Linked DNA regions of Homo sapiens: regions 1 and 3 are each linked to region 2. The links are contacts of gene promoters, found by promoter capture Hi-C in human tissues and cell types (Jung and others, 2019). All regions are on one chromosome and are shown on one strand. Each heading gives the region's core, a stretch centred on a gene start or on the middle of the fragment in contact. The rest is flanking DNA. Distances are from core to core; before and after follow the strand shown. Region 1 overlaps KIF6 (kinesin family member 6). Region 2 holds the start of DAAM2 (dishevelled associated activator of morphogenesis 2). Region 3 overlaps KIF6 (kinesin family member 6).

Region 1 (3,193 bases), core at 674-3,173, 150 kb after region 2:
CTTCTTGGATTGGTGTGAGCCTTTGGATAATTTCCAGAGTTCTGAAAAAGTTGATTTTGACAATTTTTGCCACTGGTATTATTGTTCTTGTGGAGTAATGGATTTTCAAAGTTCATTACACCACTATTTCTCTTTCTTTATTTTTAACTAGTATTTTTCCTTAGGACAGATGAGACCAGAAGCACATGAAAAGGCCTAGTGTCCATTGAAGAGTGGTTACAAGACTGAGTTGGAATGGAGGCTCTACAGAAGGGACTGGAGACAAATTTTGCCTGATTACATTTCCTTATTTAACGTTTAATTGTAGCAACGTAATAAATAAATAGCCATGGGAGTATATATAGGTCAAGCCTTACCCTTTTTATTTTACAGTGTTCTATGAAGCTATGTCATCTGGTTTTCCATCCCACAGTAGATGGGGGTAGGGGGAGCACATATTAAAGACAGACATACTAGGACAACTGGCAGTGAGAAAGAAGATTTTAGCATAAAAAAGTAGACATAACACTTAGCAGATGCCAACGTAGTGTACTACCTACTCACTTTTCGTAGTCTATATCTATATCAAAATGAAAATATTAATTTGTGCTCTGTAGTTTTTTCCTTTTTTTTTTGTTTCCTTGGCAGTGGCTTTTTTTTATATATATTATACTTTAAGTTTTAGGGTACATGTGCACAACGTGCAGGTTAGTTACATTTGTATACATGTGCCATGTTGGTGTGCTGCACCCATTAACTCGTTATTTAACATTAGGTATATCTCCTAATGCTATCCCTCCCCCGTCCCCCCACCTCACAACAGTCCCCGGTGTGTGATGTTCCCCTTCCTGTGTCCATGTGTTCTCATGTTCAATTCCCACCTATGAGTGAGGACATGTGGTGTTTAGTTTTTTGCCCTTGCGATAGTTTGCTGAGAATGATGGTTTCCAGCTTCATCCATGTCCCTACAAAGGACATGAACTCATCAATTTTTATGGCTGCAGAGTATTCCATGGTGTTTTTCAAGACAGATAATGCCTAGAATATTTTACATCTATTCTTTCTATCAAGAATCAATAAAATGTTTAAGATTAGATATTTGAAATTTTAGACTTCATTTACCTACAGCATTTATGGCCAAGAAATATCATATATCCAAATGATATTGCTAATGGGACATCAATGTTTCATTGGTAACAAATTCTGTTGAGGAAAAAGATTCTGTAATTATATATCTAATTTTGTCATAGTTCCAACATCTTAGAAATTGAGAATTTCAACAGTATATTGTCTCCATGTAAAGACACACGAAGAAAAGTGATTACACTCCTCAAAAGTAGAACATTGAATCACACAGTTACAATACTTTCTTGCGCATTCCCTGTACTAAGTCCATTAAATTTGTAAGCACCAACAACACTTTCTACCTACACAGCAACAGATGCATTGACGTGTTGCTGAAGATATTATTGTTAGTTTAATAGTTGCATAAGGTGGTCATAAGTTTAATAGTTGCATAAGGTGGTCATAAGTGACCACTTCAGAATAATCTCCAGTCAAACCTGTGTGTTTTAGGAGACCCTTATAATGACAGATCACTCAACACACAGGCATGAAAGCATATGAAACATAGAACTGTAGATAGGATGTTGACAGAACTAATAGGGAGGAATTCTAATATGAACAGTGAGGGGTGAACTCAGAGGAGCCATCTATCAAAAAATCCACCCACAACATGGGGACCAATAGCTGATGTCATCGTAGCTAGTTTAATGAAAACATCTCAGAGATCAAGGAGCCACTTGTATCAAAAAACGAACATAAAGCTACAAAAGTTTACTGTTCCATGTAGCATAGATTAAAGACACAGTTTTGAAAGTCTACATCATTTCATGCATATTTATAAAAGCTTATATTACAGGTGGTGCTCTTCAAAGGCTGAGAAGATCCAGCCTTTGGGTTCTTAAGACCACCATCAAATCAAGGGCCGCTCTGCAGGGCTGAAGAATATATATGGACTAGCATCTTCTACCAAAAAGTCATTCCAAGAAAAGAGAAGAGGGGAATTCCTAGAGGATTTTCAGTTGGTGCTTAGTATTAAGTAGGGAATTACATTGCAAGGTATATGGTGGCAAGCAGAGTGTGTTCCTCCTGTTCTAGGAAGTAACTACTATTGTGAGTGTTTACACCATGTGAGGTACCAGGTGTCAGGTTGACAGTTTGCCAAATTACAGGTATTGTTTCCCCAGAACTTTTTTTCAATATATTCTTTGATTCAAGTCCAGTGTGTACTAAAAGATGAAGAATATATTTAAGATGACTGAACTCCATTTGTGTTGCACATCCTTTCTTAGAGAACAGGATTGATGTGCTGCTGTTCCTAGATAAAAATGTAAATTCTAGCTAGATATTCACATATATAAATTTTTAATAGATATTTCTATAAAGTTTTTTTAATAGTGTTTAATAAGATTGTTATTAGAATACAAGCCATTTAATTCATATGCAGTTAGCCATGTTGATATTGAAAGTGTGTCATTTCTTTATTGCAGTGTCCTGGCAGGTTACAATGGTACCATCTTTGCATATGGGCAAACAGGCAGCGGGAAGACATTCACTATCACAGGGGGTGCAGAGCGTTACAGTGACAGAGGCATTATCCCAAGGACACTGTCATACATTTTTGAACAGTTACAAAAGGTATGAAACTTTTCGTTCATATCATTTTGTATTTGATATATTCAGCAAAAATATACTGAAAGCAGGAAATTTATTATGACATGTATTTTATTGTGTCTAAATGATAAAGTCTTATTGTGTCATAACTTTGGCCTTTACCTTTAAGGAGAGGTTGGGATTTTGCTGTACAAGTGAAAATTAAGAAGGTACTTCTCATTAAAGGGCTGCTATTTCAGCAAAGGCTCAAGGACATTTCCTTCTGATATACGCACGAAGGTTGAAAGAGCAGACAACACCTTTTACCAACTAATATCTTATATTCCTCAAGAAACTGAGGAATGTCTTCTTATCAAAGCAGATCTTTCTTTTAGCTACTGAAACACTAAACAGGATAGTATAATTGTTACTATTTTACACTTGATAGAAGCCCAGAGGAATTTACCAAAGTACAAATACCGTTGTAATTATTACCATTGTAAAAAAGGGTTATCTATCTAGATTATATGTATCATTTATTGAGTGCCTCAAAATGCCA
Region 2 (3,301 bases), core at 287-2,786:
ACCCAGACATTGTAGGTTGGCTCTACTGCAAAATACAAAACCAGAGACCTGGCTAGCTCAAAGCTGAAAATTCAGTCTGTCTGTGGTCACTCGTTTGTGGAACCCAGCTATTGACAGGCAGTGCCTGGCACTGTGCTACTCAGGGATGATGGATCGATACAGCCTCACTGCTGCTTTTTTCCCCTACTCTCCGTGGAGCACACTTTCCGCCCTAGGCCCTAGGGAAAATCCATCCCCCGCTTCAGCTGGCTTTGCAAAGAAACTCAGGAAACTAACACCAAACTCAGAAGGGGGAAAACACAAGACTTTGAACTTTTTAAAGATGGGAAGCTGCTTTCATTCCCACGTGGGCATCAAGGGAAAACCTATGGGGACTCTTTTCCGGAGAGGTGTGATTTTCCTCTAACCCTCCGAGAAACGTTCCAAATCCACTCCAAAACTGTGGAGAAGTGGCCGAGGCAGAGAGAGAAGAGTTAAATCAAGCCCAGATCTCAGCAATCTGTGTTCAATTTTGATAAAAATCTCCCTCTCCCCCACCGCCCCCCTTCCTCCACCCCACAGCTCAGACACGTCTCTTTATGTTAGGAGCTTGCATCTTGTTTGGGGCACCACACGCGGCACTCCTGGAGAACCTGGCACGTACCTCACCGTGGCCATGTGGCAGAACCAACCATCCCACTCCCAAGCTACGGCTGGACACAGGGCCACAGCGTCCTGGCCATCACCACCACCTCCCCCTCTTCCTTCTCATCCTCTTCACAAAATTACCTGCCGCCAGACCAAGTCCCTCATTCCCCGGTTAAGTCAGAGTCCCGACGCCTGGTAAAGTCAGGGCATGAGGTTGGTTTGCGACCGCAGGTGCTGAGAGCCCCAGAGTCCGGGGACCCCTTTCCTGAGATGCTCCTTCCCCCGCCCAGGGTCCCACTGCCACTGAGAACAAGAACCTTACGGCTGCCCTGCCCACTGGCCAGAGGCCAGGCCTGCAAGTGGGAGCTGGGGGCTTGTGAAGACTTCAGCCCAGCCAAGTGAAGGTTCAAGCCGAACCCGGAAAAGCCACCACCAAAAAGTTGTCAGTTTTGCGGGGTATCTTCTGTGTTTGTCCACTTGTGACAACCAGGGGTCAGGTTTCAAAGCCGCAAAAAACATTTTTAAAAAGTTTTCCAAAGACATTTCCTATGTCCAGATGTGCCAGTACAGACACACGCAATCACACTCATACACACACACAACTCACACACACACAGGCCCTGGGAGCCCACTCCGGGGTCGGCGGCTCCTGCAAACACTTTGGAGAAACAAAACCGCCAGCCTGCGGAGCTGCTGCCTCCCCAAGCCCCGCGGGGCATGCTAAAGAAAGCAGAGGGAGAGAAGTGTGGGAGCCCAGCGGAGAGGGCTCCCCGCGGCCCGGGCCCCAAGACGGGGAGCGCCAGGGCCGGCCGCACTTACTCCGAGGACCCCAGGGCGCCCGCGCTCCCGCAGCCCGAGGTACGGCGCCGCCGCCCGCGCTCCGCTCGCTGCTGCGTGCTCCGCGCTATCCCCGGGAAGCCGCGGCTGCCGCCCCTCCAGGCCCGGCCTCGCGCCCGTCCGCCCGCCCCGCTCTGACGTCAGGCGTCTTGGAGCGGGATATTTATGGCAAGGTTACTCTGAATTTTCCCTAGGTAGACTTCTGATTGCAGTTTCTTGGGATTTGTAATTTTCACACTTTCAGACCGAACGCAGGCGGGGGGAGAGCGCCACCGGCAGGGCGAGGCGTACAATGAGGGTAGCTGTTCCCCACTTTGGCAGGGAGCGTTCTCAGGGCCCCTTCTGTTTTGGAAACATGGAAGGGTCAAAGAGGCAAAAGTGGCCACCTGGGCAGCGGGTTTCTCCCCGGCTCCTCCTCTGGGCTACGGGCAAATGGCCTGGTCTGAGGCCGGCTCGGAGGTGAAGGTCCCGGTGCCAAGGAATCCCCTGTCCCTCCCCAAAGTGTCCCTGCACTGGACAGTGTGTCCCAAGGGGTGCTGGGCAAGACAGGAGCGAAATCAGGCACAACAGAACAGCTAATTAGGAGTCCTGGTCCACGCCCTAACAACTTTTCCATTTCTTTTTTGGGAGTGTATATATATTTTTTTAAGTTTATTTTTATTAAATTATGTTCCACACTCCCTGCCTCTGTATAGCTTTTCCAATTCAGTGCCAGTCAATTCATCTTACTTCATTGCTTGTATGCATAGTTTGAGCAGTTTACAATAGCTCTTATTCATACTTTTAAAATTTCCTTTTAGTTTTTTTTTTTCTTTTTTTTTTAAATGTGATTGTGGTCTGTCTCCTTGACTGAACTAGAGATTGCTTTGGTCAAGAGCAATTGTCCTCTCTGGGATTGGCAACACCCTCACGGGGAGTATTTGATCTTCTCTGTTTCCTATTTTCCCCAGCTCCCTCTGCAAGCAAATGGTGCCCCCACTGGGTGATGACCTGTATACAGTTTTCTGGGTGTTCAGTGGTTGTTCTGTGTTAGTGGTTGTCTGTTTCTCCACCTCACCAAAGGGGCTTAGGGAAATGGCTTGGTTTAAGGGCCACCCTTCCAGAGAAAAAAAGAGAATGTAATGCATGATCTTCCAGAGGAAAAAAAAAAAAAAAAGAGAATGTAATGTGTTATCCTTCATGGTTCCCAAGGATTGGAGAATGAAATGAACTTAAAATGATACACGTGAGATGCAAAATACTTATATGGTTAGACAACATAAGTGTTTAGGTATTCATCTCACCATGAATGGGAGGGGGCACGGATAATTGCAAATCATCATTAAAACACAACTATAGTGAACTTTCCATTAGCCCAAACTGGTAGAGGCGGGGTTGTGTTTTAACCACAGTTACAGTGCAGCAGGGACTCAAGGACTTGGAATGTGTTTACCTCTTTGGCAGCAGCTGGTTAGAGCTGATTGCCAGAAGGAGCTGTCTTAGGGCTGGGCCTCTCGGTAGAGGCCACGCTGTTTTGACCCAAGCCACCGAGGGCCCTGCAGCAGGGAGCTGCTGTTTGGTCACTGTGGGATTGCTCTCCCTGGCATAATACCCCACTTTTACCTCCTTCCATTCCCTCTCTCATATCAAGGCTCCACTGGCAAGGTGAGCTCTGTTCTTCAGCAGACCCTGCAAATAGGTTTCCAGAAGCCATTGACAAACCCATTCTCCCTTGCCTTTCTCAACTAAAGAAGTTAGAAATCTACAATATTCACCATCCCAGACTCCCTGGTAGCTCACAATTGCTATGAGACCAAGTTCTGACCAGTGAGATTGTAATACAGAAGACAGAGGATGC
Region 3 (3,196 bases), core at 429-2,928, 130 kb after region 2:
CATCCATCTGCAATCACCAACCAAGGAACAAATCCTTATAGTCCTATACTTATAGTTCTTATTTTCCACAGTGTCCCTTGGAAATCTTGTTTCAAAATTTAAATTTCCTTGTATCTACAAATAGTCCAAAACAGATTTTTTTCCATTAGTGTTCCTGTGACTGGTTGCTCTAATTTGATCTTCAGAAAGATAGCAAGTTCCACCAGGCACACTTTGGGAGGACGAGGCCAGTGGATCACTTGAGTCCAAGAGTTTGAGACTAGCTTGGGCAACATGGCAAAACCCCATCTCTACCAAAAATACAAAAACTAGCCAGGCATGGCGGTGTGCACCTGTAGTCCCAGCTACTAGGAGGCTGAAGTGGGAGGATCAATTGAGTCTGTGAGGTTGAGGCTGCAGTGAGCCATGATGGTGCCACTGCACTCCAGCCTGGGCAAGACCCTATAAAAAAAAAAAAGAGAGAGAGAAAAGAAGAAAAGAAAAAAAGATACTAAGCTGAAGTTGAATAAACAACTCCATGTGGACGCGTATTTTTGACTATGTGTGTGTGCAGACAATTTTTGGCTCTGAAGACATTGGGGTACGCCAGGCAGAGAAACACCTTGCTTTTGTGGATCTTGTTTTCAGTTTGAGTATTTTATTATTCAAGATAATTTTTTTTGAGATAGGGGCTCAGTATATTGCCCAGGTTGTTCTCAAACTCCTGTACTCAAGCAATCCTTCTGCCTTAGCCTCCAGATAAATCTTTAAAAGGACTTCTTACATTGGGTTTCGAATTGATATTGTCTCTATAAAAGCTGTGTGTTCAAACACCTACTTCAACCTACAAATCTTATGAGACTATTTTTACATTTAGTTATTATATAAGAATAGTCTCTTTCATTTGTTACCCTATTAACATTTGATTAATTCAAATTTAACAGTTGAAATTTTCCTAAACAATTAATTACAATTCTAATTTAGCTAATTAAATTCCCTTAAACATTTTAAACCTCATTTACACATGTAATGTATGTGACTGTCTCAAACACCTCAAATGCCTTGTGGGGCAGACTTACAAACCTAACAAATCATTTTAAGCACATAGCAACTTAAAAAATAGTAAGCAAACATATACCCATAGTAAATCAGCCTCTCTTAACATTTTAATGCTATTTCCAAAATTGAATCAAATGTACTTACACCACTTAATATCCCAAATCTGGAATTGATTATATGTTTTAAATTAAAGTCATAATATTTTTAAGTATTTCAAACTCTTTAAATAAAACAACTAGAATGGCCCAATGATATGAAAAGTACACTTAAATATATTCTATAATGTTATTAAGAGTATGGGTTTGATTTACTTTATCTCTATTCTTAATTATTTAAACTTTCCTGGGGTGCCAAGGTCTCCAGTACAATTAAAGTAAGCAGTTTTACCATCCATGGATGGCTGAGTATACCAGGTTGAAAAATCAGAATATCAGTATGATGAATTATTGGTCAGAGACTGACCTGATTTGTATTTTTCAAAGATGGCTCCTGGTTGCTAAGTGGAGAAGGATTGAGGGAGGTTAGAAGGTATCCATCTGGTAGTGACCCTTTTGTTCTGTGTAACTCTTCAACGGCTTTTCACGGAAAGGGCCTTTATTTTGTTCTCCCAGGGTACTCCTTATTAGCTCCCAAGGCTCTGTTCCTTCTTGTACCTCTCTTTTCTGCTATGGCCCTACTTCTTTCCCCGCTACTGCATGCCCTTTTAACTCCTTTTCTGATGTTTGATTTTTATTTCCTCTCAGTTTTACTACCATAGGTAGAATGGGATGCTTACATTCTTGGGGTAGAGGAAAGTTGGTCCCCAGGAAGAGAATGAGTTAAGGGAGAGAGAGAGAAAAAAAGAATGAATTCTTTACACATAGGCAATAGACACAGAAAAAAATCTAAAAGTGTACATAGCATATGTTAACCTGGGTTATCTTTGTGGAACATTATGGAGTACTTAACTTTGTGCTGTATGACATGATGTGTTTTTGACAAAGAACATATACTATTTCTATAATCAGTTAAATAAAAATAATTATGAGAAATGCAAATCAAAGGATTAGTGTGGCAATAAAATCAGAAAAATAGAAGTGAATCTTGGTGAAGAATTGAGCCTAACCATTTAAAAAATTATTATTATCAAATATTTTATCAATGCATAATTGTAGAGTAAAAATTGCTTTTAAAATAGCAGAATTTGATGTGTCTTTTCAGCCTGGTTGTGAGTTATAGTCACTGTGAGTAGGTTCATTTTGAAACAGTATCAGCTTTTCAGAGTGATTGATTCCATAGTGCAATAATTATGGTCTTATGGAAGTAAGACCAATTTGGATTTTGCAGCTCTCAGGGAAAAAGCAGCAGTGCAATAAACAAACATGTAAGCACCAGATTTTTGTGTGAAGCACTGCAAGGTGATTTCATGGGGACTCACAGGCAGTGAAAAGGAAACTATTACTTGCCTTAGAAAACTTGATATAATTATGGAATAATCCATAATGGCTTTGTTGACCAGAATAATTATATTTTAACTTTTGATTTATTTAGAAAGAAAATGGACGCTTCTGGATCACATTAATCTATTTTGTTATTTCACACTCATGTTAGTATTTTGAAGTTGCTGTAAAGTTTTTTATGAGGGGCACAGTGCTGACTGTGCTTAGACTGACAACATTCATCTCACTGAATCGAATAAATTGAATATTGGGGCTCCTTAGCTCAAAAAAAAATTTAGCTTTTGAAAGACTGTTTTGGATGACCCAGAAAAAAAAGGTAGAGGATTTCTGCTGTTGAAGGAAAGCTTCATTGACAAGATTGTGTGAGCATTTTATGTATCTGAACTTAGCAAGCTATAACTTCAAAACCTCCGAAGGGACATTGACAACACAACTAGACAGCTTATACCCCCATAGGTAGTTACTCACCCACTATGCTGAGATGATTTGATGATACCTCAAGCGGTTGAGAAAGATTCTGTGCTTAGGACTTCCCACCCAAGTATACACTAGCTTGTATACTCCGTATGAACTGTGACAGCACATGAATTTTACATGCATCCATTATATTGTACCTAGAACATTGCTGTGGAAAAAGGGGCACCATAAATGTCTTTTGCTATGAATGCATGAAGAAATAGATGCTTGAGGGAATAAATAATACAACTTCAACACATTTT

Evidence for each region. Contacts are between HindIII fragments. The study calls those that stand out against the background at their distance.
Region 1: a fragment that was not itself captured here is called in contact with the fragment with the promoter of DAAM2 in region 2 in 1 of the 25 tissues and cell types used here (hippocampus).
Region 3: a fragment that was not itself captured here is called in contact with the fragment with the promoter of DAAM2 in region 2 in 1 of the 25 tissues and cell types used here (hippocampus).

What each region holds. Positions count from the first base shown.
Region 1 is chr6:39,639,096-39,642,288 of GRCh38, reverse strand. It overlaps KIF6 (kinesin family member 6), which reads left to right. Exons shown (of 23, transcript NM_145027.6): 4 at 2,532-2,679. Among named protein-coding and RNA genes, the nearest start is that of KIF6, 85 kb to the left of the region's middle. The HindIII fragment of the contact is 5,196 bases long and covers 1-3,193 here.
Region 2 is chr6:39,790,611-39,793,911 of GRCh38, reverse strand. It overlaps DAAM2 (dishevelled associated activator of morphogenesis 2), which reads right to left and starts at 1,536. Exons shown (of 25, transcript NM_001201427.2): 1 at 1,447-1,536. The HindIII fragment of the contact is 10,904 bases long and covers 1-3,301 here.
Region 3 is chr6:39,660,173-39,663,368 of GRCh38, reverse strand. The region is part of intron 3 of KIF6 (kinesin family member 6); the gene reads left to right. Among named protein-coding and RNA genes, the nearest start is that of KIF6, 64 kb to the left of the region's middle. The HindIII fragment of the contact is 4,187 bases long and covers 1-3,196 here.